Linked DNA regions of Homo sapiens: all the other regions are linked to region 2. The links are contacts of gene promoters, found by promoter capture Hi-C in human tissues and cell types (Jung and others, 2019). All regions are on one chromosome and are shown on one strand. The core of a region is centred on a gene start or on the middle of the fragment in contact, and the rest is flanking DNA. Distances in the headings are between cores, read along the strand shown.

The links. The method cuts DNA at HindIII sites, captures the fragments that hold promoters and counts their contacts. A contact is called where the count stands out against the background at its distance.
Region 1: a contact is called between the fragment with the promoter of PRKX here and the fragment with the promoter of ARSD in region 2, in 1 of the 25 tissues and cell types used here (small bowel).
Region 3: a contact is called between a fragment that was not itself captured here and the fragment with the promoter of ARSD in region 2, in 1 of the 25 tissues and cell types used here (mesenchymal stem cells).
Region 4: a fragment that was not itself captured here is called in contact with the fragment with the promoter of ARSD in region 2 in 2 of the 25 tissues and cell types used here (IMR-90 fibroblasts and small bowel).

The regions. Positions count from the first base shown.
Region 1 is chrX:3,712,255-3,714,978 of GRCh38, reverse strand. PRKX (protein kinase cAMP-dependent X-linked catalytic subunit) reads left to right here and starts at 1,330. Exons shown (of 9, transcript NM_005044.5): 1 at 1,330-1,891. The coding sequence starts at 1,726. RefSeq lists enhancers at 1-65, 2,397-2,706 and silencers at 1,027-1,756, 1,777-1,906, 1,947-2,226. The HindIII fragment of the contact is 15,008 bases long and covers 1-2,724 here.
Region 2 is chrX:2,927,896-2,930,595 of GRCh38, reverse strand. It overlaps ARSD (arylsulfatase D), which reads left to right and starts at 1,257. Exons shown (of 10, transcript NM_001669.4): 1 at 1,257-1,364. The coding sequence starts at 1,321. RefSeq lists silencers at 1,240-1,589, 1,610-1,769. The HindIII fragment of the contact is 14,341 bases long and covers 1-2,700 here.
Region 3 is chrX:3,545,714-3,548,513 of GRCh38, reverse strand. No RefSeq gene overlaps it. Among named protein-coding and RNA genes, the nearest start is that of SNORA48B, 15 kb to the right of the region's middle. The HindIII fragment of the contact is 5,478 bases long and covers 1-2,800 here.
Region 4 is chrX:3,619,815-3,622,514 of GRCh38, reverse strand. It overlaps PRKX (protein kinase cAMP-dependent X-linked catalytic subunit), which reads left to right. Exons shown (of 9, transcript NM_005044.5): 6 at 1,199-1,256. Among named protein-coding and RNA genes, the nearest start is that of PRKX-AS1, 38 kb to the left of the region's middle. The HindIII fragment of the contact is 4,454 bases long and covers 1-2,700 here.

The DNA of each region.
Region 1 (2,724 bases), core at 81-2,580, 780 kb before region 2:
TGGTCCCCCTAAAAATGTGTCCGTTCTGACTTAGAGGCCGCTTTGGCTCTCGGAAAGCCCCCCTGACCTGCGGACTGAGGGACTGGAGACCCCCTCCAATCGCAGAATCGCTGAGATCCCTCAAAACAAAGGCGTTTGCAGTTTGACCCCTTGCTGCTCAAACTGTGGTCGGCGAACCGGCAGCCTGGGCCGCCCTGGTCGCGGGTCAGGGGCGCAGCGTCCAGGCCGTGCCAGGCCCGCAAGTTAAGCACTGTCTGCATTTCCCTGGGGAAAGGGGTGACCAAATATCTAGCTATATTTGCATTTCAAATCCACACGGATATGGGTTTTAAATATAAGTATGTCCAACTATTGCCTGAGCCACACTTAAGCCAGGAAAAAAAAATCTTTGGGGTTTCTGAAATTGAAATGCCTCTGCACAATTCTTTATAGGGTTGTCGCCGGGGTGTTTGAAACAGTGACCAATCAAGTTTCACGCACTACATTTGGTCGGGCGATCTCTCAAATCTGTCTTTCCCTAGTTTTTTAAAGGAATGTTTATTTGTAAAGAATTCTAGATCCACAGGAAGCTGCAAAGAAACGCACAGGGTCGAGCCCGCCCTTCCCCGCCCCTTCCAAGTAGAAATCTAGAATCACCAGAGTCCTACAGCAAAACCAGGACGCTGAACTCATCCCGAAGACCCGGCAGCCCCTCTTGGGGATCCGCCCTCATTCCAAATTCTCTCAGGTCCCAAACAAGCACCCGCAGGAGTACTGAACTTTTTGGGGGGAGGGCAGAGGGGATCTGTATGCAGATTGCCAGCTGAGCAATCCTATTTTCTATGACTTAAAGCCAATCAGAGGCTGGGCGTGGTGGCTTATACCTGTAGTCCCAGCACTTTGGGAGAACGAGGCAGGCGGTTCACTTGTGCTCAGGAGTTCCAGACCAGCCTGGCCAACATGGTGAAACCCTGTCTCTACTGAGAAAATACAAAAATTAGCCGGGCTAATCCGAGCCCCTCTCTTCACCAAACGCCAGTTTCACTTTTTAGTTTTGAACTTCACTTCTGCTGAGCTACGCCCTCCCTGTCCCCGGGCCCCCTCGCCTCCCCATCTTCCGGGCTTGGGTGCAGCGACGCGGGTGGCCCGCCAGTGCGTCCCCGAGGAGAAGTCAGCCTGGGTCCCACCCCAGGGGTGCCCCGGGCGCGGAGGGGGCGTGGGCACCTCCCCAGCGCCGCACGCCCGGGTCTCCGGCTCCTGGGCTGGGTCGGGGCGGGGGCGGAGCGCGCGCGAAGGCGACGCCCCCAGCCCCGCGGCCGGGTTAGGGCGGGGAGAGGCGCGGTCACGCCCAGGCGGCTTCCGCCCGCCCCAACAGCGCGCACGCGGCTACCGAGCTGGAGGAGGCGGCGGGCGCGAGACCCGGAATGCGCAGGGCCCCCGCCTCGCCCCCCCCAGCCCGGGCCGCGGCCCCCGCCTTCCCCGCAGTCGTCCCGCACTCGGTGCCCGCCCCCCGAGGCCGGCGGCTGCTCCCACTCGGGGCCGTTGCTGCTTGTGCCGTGAGCGCCGCCCAGCCATTGTCCCCGTCGCTCCGTCAGCCGCGCCGGACCGCGCACCAGGAGGCGAGAGCGCGCATGGGGAGCCTCTGTTGATGCCGCCGCCGCGCCGCCCTCCGAGGCTGCGTCCCGGGAAGCCCGGCTCCCCGAGCGCTCCGGCCTGGCCCGGTGCCCCGGACCTGAGTGCGTCCCCATGGAGGCGCCCGGGCTGGCCCAGGCGGCCGCGGCGGAGAGCGACTCCCGCAAGGTGGCGGAGGAGACCCCCGACGGGGCGCCCGCGCTCTGCCCCAGCCCTGAGGCGCTGTCGCCGGAGCCGCCTGTGTACAGCCTGCAGGACTTTGACACGCTGGCCACCGTGGGTGAGTGAGTGCGGGCGGGGACTCGGCCCACAGGGGCGCGCGGCGTGGCCGGGACGTTGTAGTAGGACAAAGGGCCCTGGGTGCCGACCTCCTGGGGAGGGCCCTGACCCGCTACTTCGGCTCGGAGTCCCCGTGCGGGGCTGCACCTGCGCCCCGGGTCTTCCCGGGTGGAGCGCACTCCCCAGCCCCCCAGCCCAGGCAAGTACCCCCGACCGGCCGGGTGCCTAACCTGAAATGCCGACGGCTCCTCTCGGAGACCACCCTCCACCCCCAGCACACACAGCACTCTGGGGCCTGGGCCGTCCGACGTCACAAAACCTCCTGCGGGTCACCTCGCCTGGGGGACCTCGTGCTCCCTCCCTGGCAGCGGCCCCAGGGACACTGGCGCGGGGTGCGAAGACCCCTGCAGGCCTCCCCTAGGCCAGCCTCCCTGTGTGCCCAGAGGCAGGGAATGTACAGATTTCTCCAGGGGCTGCAGGAGCAGCTGGGCTGTGGGGGACAGGTGTCCCGGGGCGCTGTGGGGACGAGGACGGCAGCGCTGGGGACGGATCCTAACATGTCCTGACACCGCCTGTGCTCTTCGTCTTGTGCCTCTGAAATGGGTAATTCTTGTATCGGACGCTTTATCCGTTTCCTTTGTCCTCTGTCTTTGAACTTAACCCCGAATGGGCAGCTTGACAGAGAGGTTTCGAGTTCTCGGTGCTCTTGCATCCGGACACGCGCTGCTTTATGGAGCAGCCCTGAGTGGGTCAGAATATCCCAACTGAACGTGGGCGCTGGATTTAAACAGTTGTCATCGGCCCGCCTGTGCCACTTAGGGACTCCGTATGGCT
Region 2 (2,700 bases), core at 8-2,507:
TTTGTAAGCTAGCATTTCCTACAAAATATGAATTTATACTTTGACCAGATCTTGCATTGTGAGGGGATGTGAGGGGATGAGGTAAGACATGAAGGGGCTTGAGAGAATCAGCGACTGGAGGTCAAGAGAGTTAGACAAAAACAAAGGCTCACTGCAGCCTCAACTCTCAGCCTTGATCTTTCTAGAGGTCAAAAGAGTTAAAAACAAAACAAACAAACAACAAAGGGAGAGCCAAAGATACAAAAAAAGCATTACGTGAGAGGGTAATGAGCAAAATAGCATCATTCAAAAACAAAAGGATGAGTCACAGAAAAGATGGGGAGGGGTCCAGGGCACAGTGATTAATCAAAAGGAGTAATTTCAACAGCAGTCTGATGAAAGAAACAAAGATAAAAATAGCAATTGGAATTAGCCGGGCGTGGTGGCACGCGCCTGTAGTCCCAGCTACTCGGGAGGCTGAGGCAGGAGAATCGCTTGAACCCAGGAGACGGAGGTTGCACTGAGCCGAGATCGCACCACTGCACTCCAGCCTGGGCGACAGAGTGAGTCCCTATCTCAAAATAATAATAATAATAGTAATAAAAGCAAAAAAAAAGGGCCCATCTAGCATTCCCCGTCCCAGACTTAGAGTACAAGTCCAGCATCCGGAACAGACATTTCAAACACCAAGCTTTGAGAAACTGAAATCGCAACTTGATTGCTCTGGGTAGGTCCTAAGACCCTTCCTGACAAAAAGAAAAGGGGCTCCCTGTGCTCAAGCCTAACTGGGTTTATTTTTTATTTTTATTTATTTATTTTTTGAGACGGAGTGTCACTCTGTCGCCCAGGCTGGAGTTGCAGTGGCGCGATCTCAGCTCACTGCAACCTCCACCTCCCGGGTTCAAGCAACTCTCCTGCTTCAGCCTCCCGAATAGCTGGGACTACAGACGTGAACTACCACACCCAGCTAATTTTTGTATTTTTAGTAGAGACGGGGTTTCACCAGGTTGGCCAGGCTGGTCTCGAACTCCTGACCTCAGGTGACCCACTCGTCTTGGCCTCCCAAACTGCTGGGATTCCAGGCGGGAGCCACCGCGCCCGGTCAATCGTAACTGGGTTTAATCAGCTCCTTAGCCCAGGCCTTCCCGTGTGACGACCTGGGAAAACCTGTTTCCACGCGCAGGTCCCGGAGGTCCCGAGAGCCAGGAGATGACGCGGATGAAGGAGGGGCGGGCGCCCGGCCCAGATCCCGCAGCTGAGAGGGCGGAAGCCTTGGCACTAGCGGCGCCCGGGCGCGGAGTGCGCAGGGCAAGGTCCTGCGCTCTGGGCCAGCGCTCGGCCATGCGATCCGCCGCGCGGAGGGGACGCGCCGCGCCCGCCGCCAGGTGCCTGGGACCCCGGGACGCGGCCCATACTAAGGCCTAGGGTGGGGGCCTGGGGAGGGGGTCGCGAGCACGGCGAGGGGCGCCCCGGGCGAGCCTGGGCCCCTGTAAAGGGCGTGGTTGTGTCCGGCGCCTTGTAGTCTCCAAAATGTAGCTGGAGGCGCGTTCTGTGCCCGGGAAAGACGCCAGACAGCAGAGCCCAGGGATGGGGGGCGACTGAGGGGACGAAGGGCGGGTGGAGGAGACCGAACTGAAGGGAAGGCGGAAGGGCAGGGAAAGAGAACAAAGGAGGAAGGGAAGGGAGGGCGGAGGAAGGCTGGCCGGGACCCGGAGGGAGCGGAAACTGGGCCGGTCACGCCCTGCTGGGTCCTCCGCCTTCCACGCCCAGCTACACCGCTGCCCGGATTCGGCCTTCAAAGGCTCCCTAAGACCCGCCCCGAACCGCGCCCCCCGCTCTGCCCCACTAAGACGCGCCCCGTCCCGCCCCAAGGCTCCATCCCCCGAAGCGTAGCCTTGCCCGCCCCACTTCCTAAGAGGCACCCCGTCCCGCCCCCAACCCCCCAGCTCGATGCCTTCCAGCACGGCCGTGTTCCCCGGGTCCACTAAGACGCTCCCTGTCCCTCCCCAACGCCCCGTCCTCCCGAGCACAGCTGTGACGCCCTCCCGATTTCTAAGAAGGCCCCTTCCCGCCCCCCGCCTCTTCGGCCCCACCATGACATGCTCCATCCCGCCCCCCGGCCCTTTGCCTTCCCAGCACGGCTGTGCCCTCCCCCTCATCCCACTAAGACGCGCCCCGTCCTTCCCCCAGACCCCATCCTCCCAAGCACGGCTGTGACTCCCCCAACACGCTCGGTAAGACACGCCCCTTTCCCCCCCGTGGGCTTCATTGGGCGCCCTCCCCCCAGCACCGCCGTGCCTACCCCGGTCACCCCCCAAGACTTCTCTGTCCCGTCCCCATCTCCACCACAAGCGCGGCCGTTACTTCCCTCTGGCCATCCCCCGGCGCCTTGGCCTTGTGCCGCCTCCATGTCCCCACCCTCTAGCACCGCCATGCCCCGCTGCACTTCCTCAGATGCGCCGGGTCCTGCATTCCCAGCTTCATTTGCGCCCCAGTGCCACCGGTAGAGGGTCGTGACTGCAAGTTGTCCAGGTTCTTGGCGTTTTGAACAAAGAATTGGACAAAACGCCCAGCAAAGAAAGAATGAAGCAACAAAAGAAGGAAAGCAGGGATTTATTGAAAACAAAAGGACACGTCACAGTGTGGGAGCCGACCAAGCAGCGGCTCAAGGGCCCGGGTACATAATCTTCTTGGGTCCAAATACCCCCTAGAAGTTTCCCA
Region 3 (2,800 bases), core at 192-2,691, 620 kb before region 2:
TCATGACAAGATGTCCATGCGAAGAGCTGATCATCAAAATACCTAGCACAGTTCATGAGGCTTTTTCCTCTAAAAAAGCATGAAATTCATCTTTTGAGGTACATTTGGCTTCCACCAATGTTGTTTTTGAGTGTTGACAAGCAAAAGTTAGATTTTTAGAGAAGGCTGGTGTTGTTGGTAGCAAAAGTAAAATCATAATGAAATTTTAAAAGATTTATTTCTTCAAGGCTTAGGTTCTTCATTTATTTATTTTTGAGACAGGGTCTCACTTTGTTGCCAGGCTGGAGTGCAGTGGCGCGAGCTCGGCTCACTGCAACCTCCGCCTCCCAGGTTCAAGTGATTCTCCTGCCCAATCTCCCCAGTAGCTGGGATTATAGGCACTCACCACCACACCCAGCTAATTTTTGTATTTTTAGTAGAGACAGGGTTTCACCATGTTGCCCAGGCTGGTCTCAAACTCCTGACCTCAAGTGATCCGCCTGCCTTGGCCTCCCAACGTGCTGGGATTACAGGTGTGAGCCACCACTCCTGGCCCCCAGGCTTAGGTTTAGTAAGCAAACAACAACTAAAAAAACAAGATAAAAAATGACATGGAAAGATAAGTTTATTTAGACAAGTCATTTAAAGCAAATCCGGGTTTAGAAGAAAATTTAGATTGCAAGTTTCCTGAGGGCAAAAAAAACCCTTCTTTTCATAGTTCTTTTTTATTTTTTATTTTATTTTTTATGAAAAAAATTAGAGATAGAGTCTTGCTATGTTGCCCAGGATGGTCTCGAACTGTTGGGCTCAAGCAATCCTCCTGCCTTGGCCTCCCAAAGTGCTAAGAGTACAGGTGTGAGCCACCACACCCAGCCTATGGTTCTTATATTTTATAAAGTATGTAATGTTTTCCTCATTTTTTGCATCTTTTCCTTTCTCCCTTCCTGTATCTTTTCTTCCTCAATATCACAATGAAAACATATTGTAAGGGCTGCATTGCCTGATGTATGAATTTCTAAACAGGGCACTTTGAACAAAGAGGATTATCTGTGGCATCAAAATTCAAGTCACCACTAGATCTTGTGATGGTCTAGTCCCATCGCATAAAGTGAAATCCTGCATTTCCAATCTAAAGCTTTCCAGTGCTTTCAGGTTGTGAAATTAAACAACTTGGGTACTTTTTAGATAGAAGCAAAATACAAATGGAAGTAGGGGGCTAAGGATTTCTCATATTTTTTGGTTTAAAAAATAATCTCCAGCCTGAGCAACGTAGTGAGACCCATCTCTAAATTTTTTTTTTTTAAATTAGCTGGGCATGGTGGCATGCGCCTGTGGTCCCAGCTACTTGGGAGGCTGAGGTAGAAGGATTGCTTGAGCCCAGGAGTTTGAGGCTGCAGTGAAGCTGTGATTGTGCAACAGAGTGAAACTCTCTCAAAAACAAACAACAGCAACAACAACATTTCAGTGACAATGATGGCCTTAGAGGCTGGGTACCTTAGAAATGATACATCTTCATGTGCATAGAAAGATCCCTTCCTTCCTTCCTTCCTTCCCTCCCTCCCTGCATCCCTCTTTTCCTTCCTACCTTCCTTCCTTCCTTCCTTCCCTCCCTCCCTGCCTCCCTCTTTTCCTTCCTTCCTTCCTTCCTTCCTTCCTTCCTTCCTTCCTTCCCTCCCTCCCTCCCTCTTTTCCTTCCTTCCTTCCTTCCTTTTACCTTTTCCTTTCCTTTTGGGGTCACACACTTAACAGCTAGTTTAATTTTGGAGGGTCTCAAGTTTGATCAGAAAAAGGCATGTTTATCCTTTAAAGAAGGCAACAAGAGTTTCTCTCTCTGTCTGACTTTACACCTCCACAATTTCACCAAGACAGAGATTTTTATTGGGTGAGCACATATACTTAAAAGAATTACTTGAGACAAAAATGAAGAACTTCATGGAGAGTTGAGGGTCTTGGAATGAGCAGAGTGACTCTTGGTGAACTCCACCTTTCCCATCTTCCAAAAAAAACCAAAAATCAATTCACTCTGAGATCTAATAATACCTCTGAATTGATCATCTACAGTAATCAAAGCATTCAGGCCATGAGAGCTGGTGTCTATGTTAGGGGTTCTGCATAGTAAACTGCAGTACACATTGAGAAAATATCATCGTCTCTAAACATTTGTTTCTCTGGGCTGATGAAAGAGTAAAGATGTCTGAAGAATAAAAAGGATGACTGTGTGGAAACATGCCCTGCCAACTTGATAAATTCACCAATGATCACAATTGAGTGTCTTATGTAATGAAAGTTGGCTCATTAAAGAATACCCATGTGCCCTCTGGGCATGCTTTGGATTGGCATCCACTTCTGTAAGCCAGGTTGTTTGAGAACAGATGAGTTAACTCTGCAACCAGAAGATTTAATGTGCGATTTTGCTCAGGGCTATTTCGCTGAGACACAGAAGATGGCAACAAGATCTATGCGATCTTTTGCCATGAGGGCAGCAAGTGGATGTGTCTCAGCAAATCTTTTAGAAGAATGCAGAACCATCTGACCAGGTTTCTGGAAATGTTCAGCTCCTCGTCCTGCCTGGAGAATCCCGTGTCTTGCAAGGCTGTTAGCAAGGAAGCACTCCCTCTCCTTGAGCTAAGGATGGCTTTTAGTGAAGGAAGGAAGGGAGGGAGGGAGGAATCTTTCTATGCACATGAAAATATATCCTTTCTAAGGTACCTAGCCTCTAAGGCCATCAGTGTCACTGCTTTTCGAAAACAAATAACATCACTGTCCAACTTATAAAACTCTTCTTCAATATAAATCTAGAACCTTCTGGAACATGTTGAGT
Region 4 (2,700 bases), core at 187-2,686, 690 kb before region 2:
CGGAGACTCCACAGTCTGTCACAGAACCTGGGAGTGGCTCAGTCCAAGTTCGTGCTACTTACCTTGGGGCATAGTTTATGCTGGGAAAGCCTAGACGCTTACACCGGGGTCATGGGTATTGGATTGTTTTGGGGGACTTCAATATATTATATTATTATATCATATTATGTATGTTATTATACATAATGTACTCTGTGTATTTTATGTGTACACACAGACACACATGATCATTTCTACTTCCATAAATATGCATCTTTTAGAACTCACCTAATCTCCTGGAAGTCTTCAACATCATCTCCAACTACCCATCCTAATTGAAGCAGCTTGCTGTTTTTTGTTGTCGTTGTTGTTGTTTGTTTTTGTTTTTTTTTGAGACTGACTCTACCTCTGTCACCCAGACTGGAGTGCAGTGGCTCAGTCTCAGCTCACTGCAACCTTCGCCTCCTGGGTTCAAGCGGTTCTTGTGCCTCAGCCTCCCAAGTAGCTGGGACCACAGTTGTGTGCCAGCATGCCCAGCGAATTTCTTTTTCTTTTTTTTTGTAGAGATGGGGTTTCACCATGTTGGCCAGGCTGGTCTCAAACTCCTCACGTCAAGTGATCCACCCGCCTCGGCCTCCCCACAGTGCTGGGATTACTGGTGTGAGCCAGTATGCCCAACCTCCCCACCTGCTGTACTTCTGACATGGTCTGTTATTTAAAAGGAAGATTATAAGTGAAGAAGCAGACTTAGGAGACTCATCCTAATGTGTGTGCTTATGGGAAAGCCAGCCTTTTAAAACAGGAATCCCATCAATAAGCAGACCCCCAGGACAGCGCGTGAGTGTTGATGTTGGTGAAAGCAGATGTCTTCTATTTTGCAGGGACAGCCTGACAGGCATGTTTACGTTAAGTGTCTGGATCCTCCCTGCAGGCACATATAAATTTCACCCTTTTCTACTCAGAGGTGTATTTTCTTTACAAAGATGTAATCAACCCCCTTCCCTTAGCTTCAGCCTTGCACGGGGCAACCCAGCCTTGCATAGGTGATTTAAGAGCCGGTGATGGTAGGAAATAAGCACTAGAAAGTGTTTTGCCAAAGTGGAAATTGAACTGCGGTCCTCATGTCAGATAGATCTTATCTCTGTTGCCATGCTGCGTTTGCTGATGTTGATATATAATCTGTGTACTTTTTTTTTTTTTGTCTCCTTCCCCAACATAGAGACCTCATTAAGAAACTGCTCGTGGTTGACAGAACAAGGCGATTAGGAAACATGAAGGTCAGTATTTGATCCCGTGGGTATTCAGTGGTACCCGATGTGCGTGTCTGCCGTCTAACACCCACATTGGCATGTGCAGGTATAAACCAAGGCTTAGCGGTCGTATTTAATCACTGCCCAAATTTCAAATCTGGTGTTTTATTTATTTTTTTAAATTTTACTTGAAACTGCCAGGAAAGATCTATCAAATCTCGGTTTCTGGGCCCACAACGTCAAACTGGGTCTACACCGTATCTCCCCTCCCCTCAAGCAAGGTTAATAGAGCAATAACAATGCATAAGTTATTACTCATTATTTTGTTTACTTATTTATTTTATTTTTTAAACAGTTTTACGGAGAGTGAATTCACACGCCATGCCATTTACCCATCTAAAATGTGCAATTCGGTGGCTTTTAGTATACACACGATTATGTACAGCCACCCCTGTGGTTAATCTTAGAACATCTTCATCAGTTCAAAAAAAGAAACCCTGCACCCTTCAGTTATCACTGTGCTATTCTTTCATCCTCTCTTGCCCTAAGCCAGCGGTCCCCGACCTTTTTGGCACCAGGGGCCAGTTTTGTGGAAGACAGTTTTTCCACAGACCGCACAACCTAAATCCCTTAGTTGCGCAGTTCACAATAGGGTGTGTGCTCCTATGAGAATCTAATGCCACTGCTGATCTGACAGGAGGCGGAGCTCAGGTGCTAATGCCAGCCATGGGGAGCAGCTGTCAGTACAGGTGAAGCTTCGCTCACCTGCCTGCTGCTCACCTCCTGGTGTGCGGCCCATTTTGGTTCCTCATAGGCCGTGGACCACTACCAGTTTGTGGCCCAGGGGCTGGGGACCCCTACCCTAAGCAGCCACTAATCTACTGACTTTCTCTGTAGGGTTCGGTGTTCTGGGCTCTGCTAAAAATGGAATTGTACAAAATGTAAGCTTTTGCCTCTGGCTTCTTTCTCTGAGCACGATGTCTTCAAGGTTCATCCAGGCTGTAGCCCGTGTCAGAGCTTCCTTCCTTTTCCTGACTGCATAGTATTCGATTGTGTGGGCAGACCTCGTTTTGTTTATCCATTCATCTATGGATGGACATCTGGGCTGTTTCCACCTTTTGGCTTTTGTGAATGGTTCTGCCATGGACATGAGAGTAGGTGTTTTGTGTGCGCAGGTGATGATTTTAAAAGTTGTGCATCAGGTATGATTTCCACAAACTTTTTGTGTGGAGGCAAGTATATAATTGACAAACAGACTATTCCTTAAGTAGTATCATACCTGATATGCGTGTTTTGACATCCCTGAATTTGACAGAATTCATGGACTTTTTGTTGGCCATTTCTAGCTCTGGACAACCTCAGAGGGACTTATACATGGAGGAACTTCCATATACGTCTTGACCCTGTAAATTACAGTCTGGAGAGACACAGTACACCGGGGTGTGAGGCTTGAACCACTTGGCTCTCTTGG